3 separate regions of the Homo sapiens genome follow, and all the other regions are linked to region 2. Evidence: promoter capture Hi-C in human tissues and cell types (Jung and others, 2019). All regions are on one chromosome and are shown on one strand. The core of a region is centred on a gene start or on the middle of the fragment in contact, and the rest is flanking DNA. Distances in the headings are between cores, read along the strand shown.

What was found. Contacts are between HindIII fragments. The study calls those that stand out against the background at their distance.
Region 1: a contact is called between a fragment that was not itself captured here and the fragment with the promoter of SOX2 in region 2, in 2 of the 25 tissues and cell types used here (aorta and dorsolateral prefrontal cortex).
Region 3: a fragment that was not itself captured here is called in contact with the fragment with the promoter of SOX2 in region 2 in 3 of the 25 tissues and cell types used here (heart right ventricle, lymphoblastoid cells and spleen).

Annotation. Positions count from the first base shown.
Region 1 is chr3:181,423,650-181,427,227 of GRCh38, forward strand. All of the region lies in intron 3 of SOX2-OT (SOX2 overlapping transcript), which reads left to right. All of the region lies in intron 3 of LOC102724604 (a long non-coding RNA gene), which reads right to left. Among named protein-coding and RNA genes, the nearest start is that of SOX2, 290 kb to the right of the region's middle. The HindIII fragment of the contact is 3,615 bases long and covers 111-3,578 here.
Region 2 is chr3:181,710,430-181,714,027 of GRCh38, forward strand. It overlaps SOX2 (SRY-box transcription factor 2), which reads left to right and starts at 1,496. Exons shown (of 1, transcript NM_003106.4): 1 at 1,496-3,598. The coding sequence starts at 1,932. The coding sequence ends at 2,885. All of the region lies in intron 6 of SOX2-OT (SOX2 overlapping transcript), which reads left to right. RefSeq lists enhancers at 1-778, 779-1,631, 1,632-2,485, 2,486-3,337, a promoter at 724-1,757 and a silencer at 1,337-1,396. The HindIII fragment of the contact is 19,833 bases long and covers 1-3,598 here.
Region 3 is chr3:181,985,094-181,988,517 of GRCh38, forward strand. All of the region lies in intron 5 of LINC01206 (long intergenic non-protein coding RNA 1206), which reads left to right. Among named protein-coding and RNA genes, the nearest start is that of LINC01206, 34 kb to the left of the region's middle. The HindIII fragment of the contact is 4,000 bases long and covers 14-3,424 here.

The DNA of each region.
Region 1 (3,578 bases), core at 668-3,167, 290 kb before region 2:
TTGTATATCCCCAAATCTGGAAGCAAATATTTAAATACAAAAGCATCTGGGCATGGTGGCTCATGCCTGTAATCCCAGCACTTTGGAGGCCGAGGTGGGCGAATCACTTGAGGTCAGGAGTTTGAAACCAGCCTGGCCAACACGGTGAAACCCTCTCTCTACTAAAAATACAGAAGTTAGCTGGGTGTGGTAGTGCACACCTGTAATCCAAGCTACTCAGGAGGCTGAGGCAGGAGAATCACTTGAACCCAGGAGGCAGAGGTTGCAGTGAGCCAAAATGGCACCACTGAACTCCAGCATGGGTGATGGAGGGACATTCCATTTCAAAACCAAGGAAAGAGAAGGAAGGAAGGAAGGAAAGAAAGAAAGAGAAAGGAAAGAAGGGAGGGAGGGAAGAAAGGAAAGAAGGAAAGGAAAGGAAGGAAGGAAGGAAGGGAAAGAGGAAGGAAGACAGGCAAGCAACCCAATGAGTCTAATAGTAGCACTAAGTTAGTTTAATCTGCAGAATTGAACCTAGAAAATCAAAGCTTGGAATCTTCACTTTTGTAAAATGCCCAAAGCAATTTACCCATCTACTCTGCCTTCTCTGTTCTTTCTTCAACTTGAAAGAGAATTAAACGTCAGATTTACAGCTCAGATTCAGGTTACTTTATGTCAAATTCTCTATCTACGTAGACAAATTCAGCCAGGTCTTGCTATGCTGGAGCAGCTTTCACTGTGGGAGGAGGTGGTGGAAGTATTATGGAAGTTACTACTTATCACTGGGTGCTGAGAAGCAGCATGCTCCGCCATTCTCATTACCAAACTTGTAGTCAGAAGAACTCTGCCTGAGCCCCTGGTCTGCTGCTTCCTTGCTTAGTGATCCAGAACAGGACCTATTAACTTTCTCAGTCTCCAAAAGAAAAATCTTGCCCCTTGAATAGTGCTGACCTAAAGTTAATACTCAGTAAGCATTCATGAAATGAATAAATGTTACAGAAAGTGACATCAGTAATTATGTTCTACGTATTTGTGCTGTCGTCCCTTAAAACTGTGGATATAAGTCCACAGTCTATATCAAGTCAAACTTAGTTAAGTTAGCCTGCACCATTTAGCCAGGAATGTATGTGCTCCTGTTACAAAATGAAAGTAACTGGCCTAGAAGCCTGACACATCAGTTGTCATCTTTAATGTCCCTTCATCATACAATTCCTCGATGGCTTCATATATCACCTGTCAGGTAATCTTCCAGAGAAGCTTGACTTTAACCATTTGTTCTGTGGTTCAAGTGATGAATGAGATGGGTTAGATCATTTAATTCACTATATGGCACCCAAATGTTAAAGCTGGAGGAAAAGAATGTCTGACAAATTGTTTGTTGTCATTAAGGTTTATTTCTCATATGCCTTTGATGGTTCCCCTCACCTCATTATTGTCCAACACACAAAGCTAACTATTATAAGGAAGACAATACTTAATGGATGCTAGACAAATGATAGTTGGAGCTGTCTGGTGCACTACCTGATAAGTGAGAGCTAAATTATAATGTCATTAGATGGAATGCCTCAAGTTATTATAAAGTTGTGCTTCCCACAATGTCCTTGCTTTATCCTCAGCATGGTTCTTCCTGGCATCCGTTTTCACTCAGCAGCTGCCTTGTTTCCAGAACAGCTGAGACCGAGTGTTGAATCCTCTGTTATGCCAATTTTAAAATGTCCAACCAATACTGAGAATGTGTGTTTTGAGTATTAATGTCATCCAAACATAAACTTTAAGAAAATAAAAACGACATATTTTACAAATGCAGCCTTTAAAAATTTGTAACAATACAGTTAAAAACTTTGTATAATTCACAGGAAGACTGGGTATATAGAACCATAAATCCCCATTTACACTATCTTTTTCTCCAGGCACAAATTCCCTTCTTAGATTGTTCGTATGACAATTTCCTACCCAGTCCTTACAACATATTGACACTCAGTTAATAATTCAAGATGAATGAATGAATTTATGAATGAGAGGAAGTACATTCAAATATACAGATACTAAAAGCATGTTAGTGTAAAATATTTTGCGGACAAGTTGATTGTAAAGAAAATTAATTTCACTTCATCCACAAGGAAGTTAGGATTTCTTGGCATTTTGTGTTTGCAACAAACAAATAATCCTGATTATTATTTAAAATAGCTCCATGAGTTCACTTAGTGTTTGTCAGATTTTAACAATACCTGACAAACAGAGCTCTGTATTTATTCGTGCATATGAAGAGCAAGCTTCATTATTTTTTGGTATTAGGTAGATCAACCAGCAGACTCACTCATTCAGTGACCATAAATGTTGTATAATGCATTAATGACTCCTTAAGTAGAGCTCACAAAAGTACCACCCCAGTTTCTTGTACTAAGTAGCATATTTCAAATATAATTTTTCTGTTTCACTGGTTGTGAATACTACTAAATCAGATATATCTGGGTTTAAATCCTGGCTCTACCAATTACAAACTTCTTCAACTCTATGCCTCATTTCTTCATCTTTAAAATGAGAATAAAAATCATACCATCAAAGAGTTGTTATGAAAATTGTTTGCCTGTAAAGAATTTAGAGCAGTGTCTGGCACTTAGTAGGTATTCAATAAATGTTAGCTAATGTTGTAGAGTTGTAAATAATTTTAGTCTTGTTAATTTTCCAAAGTGATAAAGCAGGAAGGGTTAAAGGCCCCTAGTTCACCTTAGGTCCTGCCTGGCCCTTAAGCCAATGTAATCCAAAAGAAATGTGAGAGCCACATGTGTAACTTAAAATATTTTAGTAGTGGCATTAAAAAAGGTAAAAAGAAACAGATACCATTAATTTTGATAATATACTTTCTTTAACCCTGTATATCCAAGAATAGTAACATTTTAACATGTACCCAACATAAACAATTTAATAAGGTATTATACTTTTTTTTTTCTTACTAAGGCTTCAAAATATGGCATATATTCTATACTTTTAGCACATCTCAATTTGGGAGCTGAGTTTTGATTAGGAAGAGTTGGTTTCGATTACATAAAATTTACAGTTGAACAAATGAACACACATCCAAGTTATTTCAAAGATATTTAGAAGTTTTTACATTAAATCTAGTTCTTAAATTTAAATTTAAATTAATAAACTCAGTTTCTCTGTCCCACTAGTCGTATTTCAAGTTCACCATAGTTCCATATGGCTAGCACCACCCAAATTAGACAGCACAATCCTCAGCAATCTCAAGTTGAACATACCCAAGACCCTGCCACTCCACCTATCATAAAGCTGAACTACATTTTAAGCTCCGGTGTTAGGATACAGGAGGTTTGAGCAGGATGTTACGAAGAGAAGAGGCTGAGTCTACATGACATCGTAAATCTGCTATAAAAGTGAAGACACAATGGTGAAATTGGTGGTGAGGGATTAAGGAAGCCAAAACATATTCATAGAAATAGAAGCTTCAGCCATGCATGGCCCTATGGAATGCTTGGTCCCCTCTGTGCCTTTTTCTGCACTACTCACTCCTGATGGTTTCTTTTTTTCCTTTTTTTTTTTTTTTTTTTTGAGACGGAGTCTCGCTGTGACACCCAGGC
Region 2 (3,598 bases), core at 246-2,745:
GAGGCTTTGTTTGACTCCGTGTAGCGACAACAAGAGAAACAAAACTACCTATTTGTAACGGACGTGCTGCCATTGCCCTCCGCATTGAGCGCCTACCTATTGAAATCTTTACGTCGGGACAATGGGAGAGCGGCTAAAATTACCCTCTTGGGTCCTGGGCGGGCAAGATTCCTGAGCCCCTACCCCCGCCCCCATCTCATCCTCCTCTAACCCGGGCCTTGCTGGGCTCCCCCTTCCCCAGTCCCGGCCGCCTTCTCCCAGTGTGCGCTGCCTGCACCTGTGCCTGGAGAGCATCGACCCCGCCTCCCAGGCCTTGAGCCCCTTTGCGGCGCAGCCCCAGCCTTGCGCGGCCTGGGCTTTGCGGCCACCACAATGGAAATCTACGGGGAAAATGCCAGGGCTGGTTCTGCTGGAGTCCTGGGAACTCTGCGTGGGAGGGAGTTTGTGACTGCGGCCCAAAAGCCACCTCCATACAGTGCCGTGGGATGCCAGGAAGTTGAAATCACCCTCCCCCATCGCCTGCACTTTTGAGCGCCCTTCCGTCTGTGTCTTTCCCCAGCCCCCATTTGAAAGCCGCACGACCGAAACCCTTCTTACGGGGAGGCATGGGATGGGAATGGGGAGTGGGGGCAGACAGTAGAAGCATCCCCTTTGCTACGGTTGAATGAAGACAGTCTAGTGGGAGATGTGGCTGGGGCTAAGAGGAAGAGCTGCAGTTTCCTGGGCCAAAGAGCTGAGTTGGACAGGGAGATGGCAGCTTACCAAGGCCTGCTGGTTCTCAGCTCTAGAGTCTGCCTTATGGTCCGAGCAGGATTTATTTTTAAGAACAGAGCAAGTTACGTGGAAGCAAGGAAGGTTTTGAGGACAGAGGTTTGGGTCTCCTAACTTCTAGTCGGGACTGTGAGAAGGGCGTGAGAGAGTGTTGGCACCTGTAAGGTAAGAGAGGAGAGCGGAAGAGCGCAGTACGGGAGCGGCACCAGAGGGGCTGGAGTTGGGGGGGAGTGCTGTGGATGAGCGGGAGAACAATGACACACCAACTCCTGCACTGGCTGTTTCCAGAAATACGAGTTGGACAGCCGCCCTGAGCCACCCACTGTGCCCTGCCCCACCCCCGCACCTTAGCTGCTTCCCGCGTCCCATCCTCATTTAAGTACCCTGCACCAAAAAGTAAATCAATATTAAGTTTAAAGAAAAAAAAACCCACGTAGTCTTAGTGCTGTTTACCCACTTCCTTCGAAAAGGCGTGTGGTGTGACCTGTTGCTGCGAGAGGGGATACAAAGGTTTCTCAGTGGCTGGCAGGCTGGCTCTGGGAGCCTCCTCCCCCTCCTCGCCTGCCCCCTCCTCCCCCGGCCTCCCCCGCGCGGCCGGCGGCGCGGGAGGCCCCGCCCCCTTTCATGCAAAACCCGGCAGCGAGGCTGGGCTCGAGTGGAGGAGCCGCCGCGCGCTGATTGGTCGCTAGAAACCCATTTATTCCCTGACAGCCCCCGTCACATGGATGGTTGTCTATTAACTTGTTCAAAAAAGTATCAGGAGTTGTCAAGGCAGAGAAGAGAGTGTTTGCAAAAGGGGGAAAGTAGTTTGCTGCCTCTTTAAGACTAGGACTGAGAGAAAGAAGAGGAGAGAGAAAGAAAGGGAGAGAAGTTTGAGCCCCAGGCTTAAGCCTTTCCAAAAAATAATAATAACAATCATCGGCGGCGGCAGGATCGGCCAGAGGAGGAGGGAAGCGCTTTTTTTGATCCTGATTCCAGTTTGCCTCTCTCTTTTTTTCCCCCAAATTATTCTTCGCCTGATTTTCCTCGCGGAGCCCTGCGCTCCCGACACCCCCGCCCGCCTCCCCTCCTCCTCTCCCCCCGCCCGCGGGCCCCCCAAAGTCCCGGCCGGGCCGAGGGTCGGCGGCCGCCGGCGGGCCGGGCCCGCGCACAGCGCCCGCATGTACAACATGATGGAGACGGAGCTGAAGCCGCCGGGCCCGCAGCAAACTTCGGGGGGCGGCGGCGGCAACTCCACCGCGGCGGCGGCCGGCGGCAACCAGAAAAACAGCCCGGACCGCGTCAAGCGGCCCATGAATGCCTTCATGGTGTGGTCCCGCGGGCAGCGGCGCAAGATGGCCCAGGAGAACCCCAAGATGCACAACTCGGAGATCAGCAAGCGCCTGGGCGCCGAGTGGAAACTTTTGTCGGAGACGGAGAAGCGGCCGTTCATCGACGAGGCTAAGCGGCTGCGAGCGCTGCACATGAAGGAGCACCCGGATTATAAATACCGGCCCCGGCGGAAAACCAAGACGCTCATGAAGAAGGATAAGTACACGCTGCCCGGCGGGCTGCTGGCCCCCGGCGGCAATAGCATGGCGAGCGGGGTCGGGGTGGGCGCCGGCCTGGGCGCGGGCGTGAACCAGCGCATGGACAGTTACGCGCACATGAACGGCTGGAGCAACGGCAGCTACAGCATGATGCAGGACCAGCTGGGCTACCCGCAGCACCCGGGCCTCAATGCGCACGGCGCAGCGCAGATGCAGCCCATGCACCGCTACGACGTGAGCGCCCTGCAGTACAACTCCATGACCAGCTCGCAGACCTACATGAACGGCTCGCCCACCTACAGCATGTCCTACTCGCAGCAGGGCACCCCTGGCATGGCTCTTGGCTCCATGGGTTCGGTGGTCAAGTCCGAGGCCAGCTCCAGCCCCCCTGTGGTTACCTCTTCCTCCCACTCCAGGGCGCCCTGCCAGGCCGGGGACCTCCGGGACATGATCAGCATGTATCTCCCCGGCGCCGAGGTGCCGGAACCCGCCGCCCCCAGCAGACTTCACATGTCCCAGCACTACCAGAGCGGCCCGGTGCCCGGCACGGCCATTAACGGCACACTGCCCCTCTCACACATGTGAGGGCCGGACAGCGAACTGGAGGGGGGAGAAATTTTCAAAGAAAAACGAGGGAAATGGGAGGGGTGCAAAAGAGGAGAGTAAGAAACAGCATGGAGAAAACCCGGTACGCTCAAAAAGAAAAAGGAAAAAAAAAAATCCCATCACCCACAGCAAATGACAGCTGCAAAAGAGAACACCAATCCCATCCACACTCACGCAAAAACCGCGATGCCGACAAGAAAACTTTTATGAGAGAGATCCTGGACTTCTTTTTGGGGGACTATTTTTGTACAGAGAAAACCTGGGGAGGGTGGGGAGGGCGGGGGAATGGACCTTGTATAGATCTGGAGGAAAGAAAGCTACGAAAAACTTTTTAAAAGTTCTAGTGGTACGGTAGGAGCTTTGCAGGAAGTTTGCAAAAGTCTTTACCAATAATATTTAGAGCTAGTCTCCAAGCGACGAAAAAAATGTTTTAATATTTGCAAGCAACTTTTGTACAGTATTTATCGAGATAAACATGGCAATCAAAATGTCCATTGTTTATAAGCTGAGAATTTGCCAATATTTTTCAAGGAGAGGCTTCTTGCTGAATTTTGATTCTGCAGCTGAAATTTAGGACAGTTGCAAACGTGAAAAGAAGAAAATTATTCAAATTTGGACATTTTAATTGTTTAAAAATTGTACAAAAGGAAAAAATTAGAATAAGTACTGGCGAACCATCTCTGTGGTCTTGT
Region 3 (3,424 bases), core at 764-3,263, 280 kb after region 2:
CTCCTGGGTTCAAGCGATTCTCCTGCCTCAGCCTCCTAAGTAGCTGGGATTACAGGTGCATGCCACCAGGCCCAGCTAATTTTGGTTATTTTTAGTAAAGACAGGGTTTCACCATGTTGGTCAGGCTGGTCTCGAACTCCTGACCTCTTGATCCTCCCACCTCGGCCTCCCAAAGTGCTGGGATTACAGGCGTGAGCCACCGCGCCCAGACTCGAGTGTATTTTTCTACCTTTACAACATAGTGAAAAGCACCCAAACTTTAGAATTACATAGATCTGGGTTCAAATTCTAGATTTATTGTTTAATAGTTATATGACTTTGGATAAGCTCTATAACCTCTTAGCTTGATTTTCCTCATTTATAAAATGTCAGAGAAAAATAGCACCCCTTGAGGTTGTCATGCAGTATAAATGAAGTACTATTTATCAGGTCTCAAGCATGAAGCTTGGCACACAGTGAAGTGGAACTGTTGCTTCCTCAGACACGGTTCACATGGGCTAATATCTGCACTTTGCATAGCCCACTCTAAAGGAACGTATCACATTATCTTATATTTAGTTGTCCATGTGCCTGCCTCCCCACCAGAACACCTGTTTCTTTTTGTAGTTCAGAGCCTGACATACAGGTGCTCAGAATATAGTCATTGGATGGAAATTAAAAATAAAATAACCTTTAGTAGTAACCTAATTTCCAGGCAATATTCTCTTTATCTGGAACCTTGACAAAACTTTTTTCTTTTTTTTTTTCTTTCCTTCCTTTTCTTTTCTTTCCTTCTTTCAGTTGTACATTTCCAATGCTGTTTTTTCTTTGGTAAAATGGAGTCCCTCTCTAGGGGCTGCTGTGAGGATTACATGACTCAAGTCTGTGAAGGGCTTTGCACAGGACCTGGTATAGTGCAGTTGCTTGGCAGGGGCCATGGAAGGGTGTTGAGACAGGGTCTCACTCTGTTGCCCAGACTGGTTTTGACCTCTTGGGCTCGAGCAATCCCCCTGCGTTAGCCTCCCATAGCACTGGGATTACAGGTGTGAGCCACCATGCCCAGCCTAGTGCAGATAATTGTGTAAGTGCTTCTGATAATTGTGTCCAACTTGTGTATTTGCTATTACAGAAGAACAGCTTTTGAGGTAATTTATGTTGAAATTTCTATCTCTTAAAAACATGTTTTCATTACAAAACTAATACATGCTCACCGTTAAAAATTTGGCAAATATAGAAAATAGAGACTCCTCAGTCTAATGATTGGCTCCTTTCTGAGGCTTCTGTGGAGCAGATTTATGGTGGGCAACATTCTTCTTGCAAGGCATGAGAAAATTAGAAACCTGGACTGGAATACTCGCACAGAACCGCAGATGTAGAAATTCTCAAGCTTGGGCAGTCTAGACCTAGAGCACATGTCCTGGTAAAGCTCCTGAATTGGTTTGGAGAACCTAATCAATGATAGGCTTACCTACATGACACCTTTCATTCCAGTCAGCGTTTCTGAAGCCTGCCTTGGTGAAATCACAGCGTGGCTGCAGAACTGACATGGGCCCAATTGTCCTACCACTCGTAGCATCACCACCTGGACTCAGACAGCTTTGGCTACTGGTCCAGACACCTGGCTCTCAAGCCCTGATTTTGGTGAAGTTTGTCTAGTGTTGGTTTATAAAAGCCTATAGTGTCAGTAAGGTTCTGCCCACACTAATAACCCTACTCAACTAGTTACAGTTGTCTCATCAGCTGCTTTAAATACCTTCTCTCATTTTGGAGCACCTAACAACACAGAAACCCAGCCCTGTCTCTCACTCAATGAACTGACCCTTTAGTGGTGGATCTAGTGACTGTGTATGGAAATGGCCCATATTAGCAGTGTGGCCACACACGTGCTTATTGTCTTCTCTTTCTTTCCATAAGTGAGGAGCATCACTAAGGGTACACCAACAATTTTATTCTTTTGATTCAACATCAGAACTTCCAAAGTGGCCCTTCCTGTCCATCCCCGTTGTTTCAGTCTTCTTGAGGCCCTAACATGTGCTATCCTATAGGGTACTTCAACCCCGTTACAATCCACATTTTTCAGTCCAACTTCTTGGAAAAAAAGATGTAGCCAATACCCAGCTGCTGCAGTTTGCTGCCCAGGAGTTTATCACCATTGTCCATAAGTCCATGCTTCTCCAATGCTATTTTCTTTGCCAAGAATATTCTATCTCTTGGAAAAGTCCTGCTATTTTACCTAATCTGAATGTTGCTACGGTAAAATCTTAGTTGATTCTGGAAAACAGTTATCCACTTCTTTCCAATGCTTTCAGAGCCCACAGTTTTGCCTCTTTTACTGCCCTTATAGTATGTTGTAATTATCTATTTATACATCTGTCTCCTCCCACTGGAATGTGAGATTGTGGAAGCCAGCAATAGCTCATATTCGCGGGTGCATCCCCAGCCCCTAGCGCATAGTAGGCGTGTAGTGTTGATTGGAGGAGTGACTAGTGACTAGAATCAATGTTCTTTTGCTCATGGAAAATGGCTTTTAGGCTAATATGCTTTTGTGATTTAGCAAAAAATGATAAAGTTCAAAGTGGAAAAAAGTTTCCTAACCTGTTGTGACATACAGCAAGAGATTTTATTGCATATTTCTGTTTTTATCTGCCATATGGCTTTCCATTCACAAACTGCTCTAGTGAGAATTAGTTTTGCAGGTAATTTTCTAATGATTGTCTTGGGATAAACAAATTTATCAGACTTGTTTGGCTAATGTATTCAAGGAGGTTCACAGGGGAAAAGATTAATCATCTAAGAAGCAAGCGGGTGTCTGTCATTAGGCGGAAGGGTCCAGAGAGATGATCGGAGCTGAGCGAGTGGTTGCTATGACTGCAGATACCTTTCTCTCCCTTTGTGAGGTCAACAGCAGCTCCCAAGCTGATTGGCTAAAATTAGATTATCCTGCTGACCAACTATGGGAAGTTAATTTCATCAGAAAGAGAAAAATGGTAGGAAATCCTGCTGTGATGCTACAAAGGAATTTTCTTTAGAAACCCAGAGTCCAAGTTTGCTTTCATTATAATTAATATGTTCCGTCTAATAAAATAATTTAAGGGAAGCAGACAATAGCATTAGTCTATTATTTTGTATATCCATATAAGCTTTAATCTTGTTTGTCCTAAAACCAACTCTCAAAGTTAAAGTTACCTTTATTTTCCTGTAAATACCTTCCATAACCAAAGACTGTAATCGTGTATGTGTTTATATAATTGGAGATAGGCTAATTGTGAAAAATACAAAAGGAGCTGGCACAATTAAAGGTATCTGCTTACAGGGCTCTTGCCCTAGGGAAATAGTAGGCACAAAAAACTTTAAGCAGAATCATTTACCTTTGGATTGAGAGCATAGTTTTAATTGAATTTGAATAGAATTCTGCCTTCCAAAGGGTTCTGTCCCTGTAAGTCTT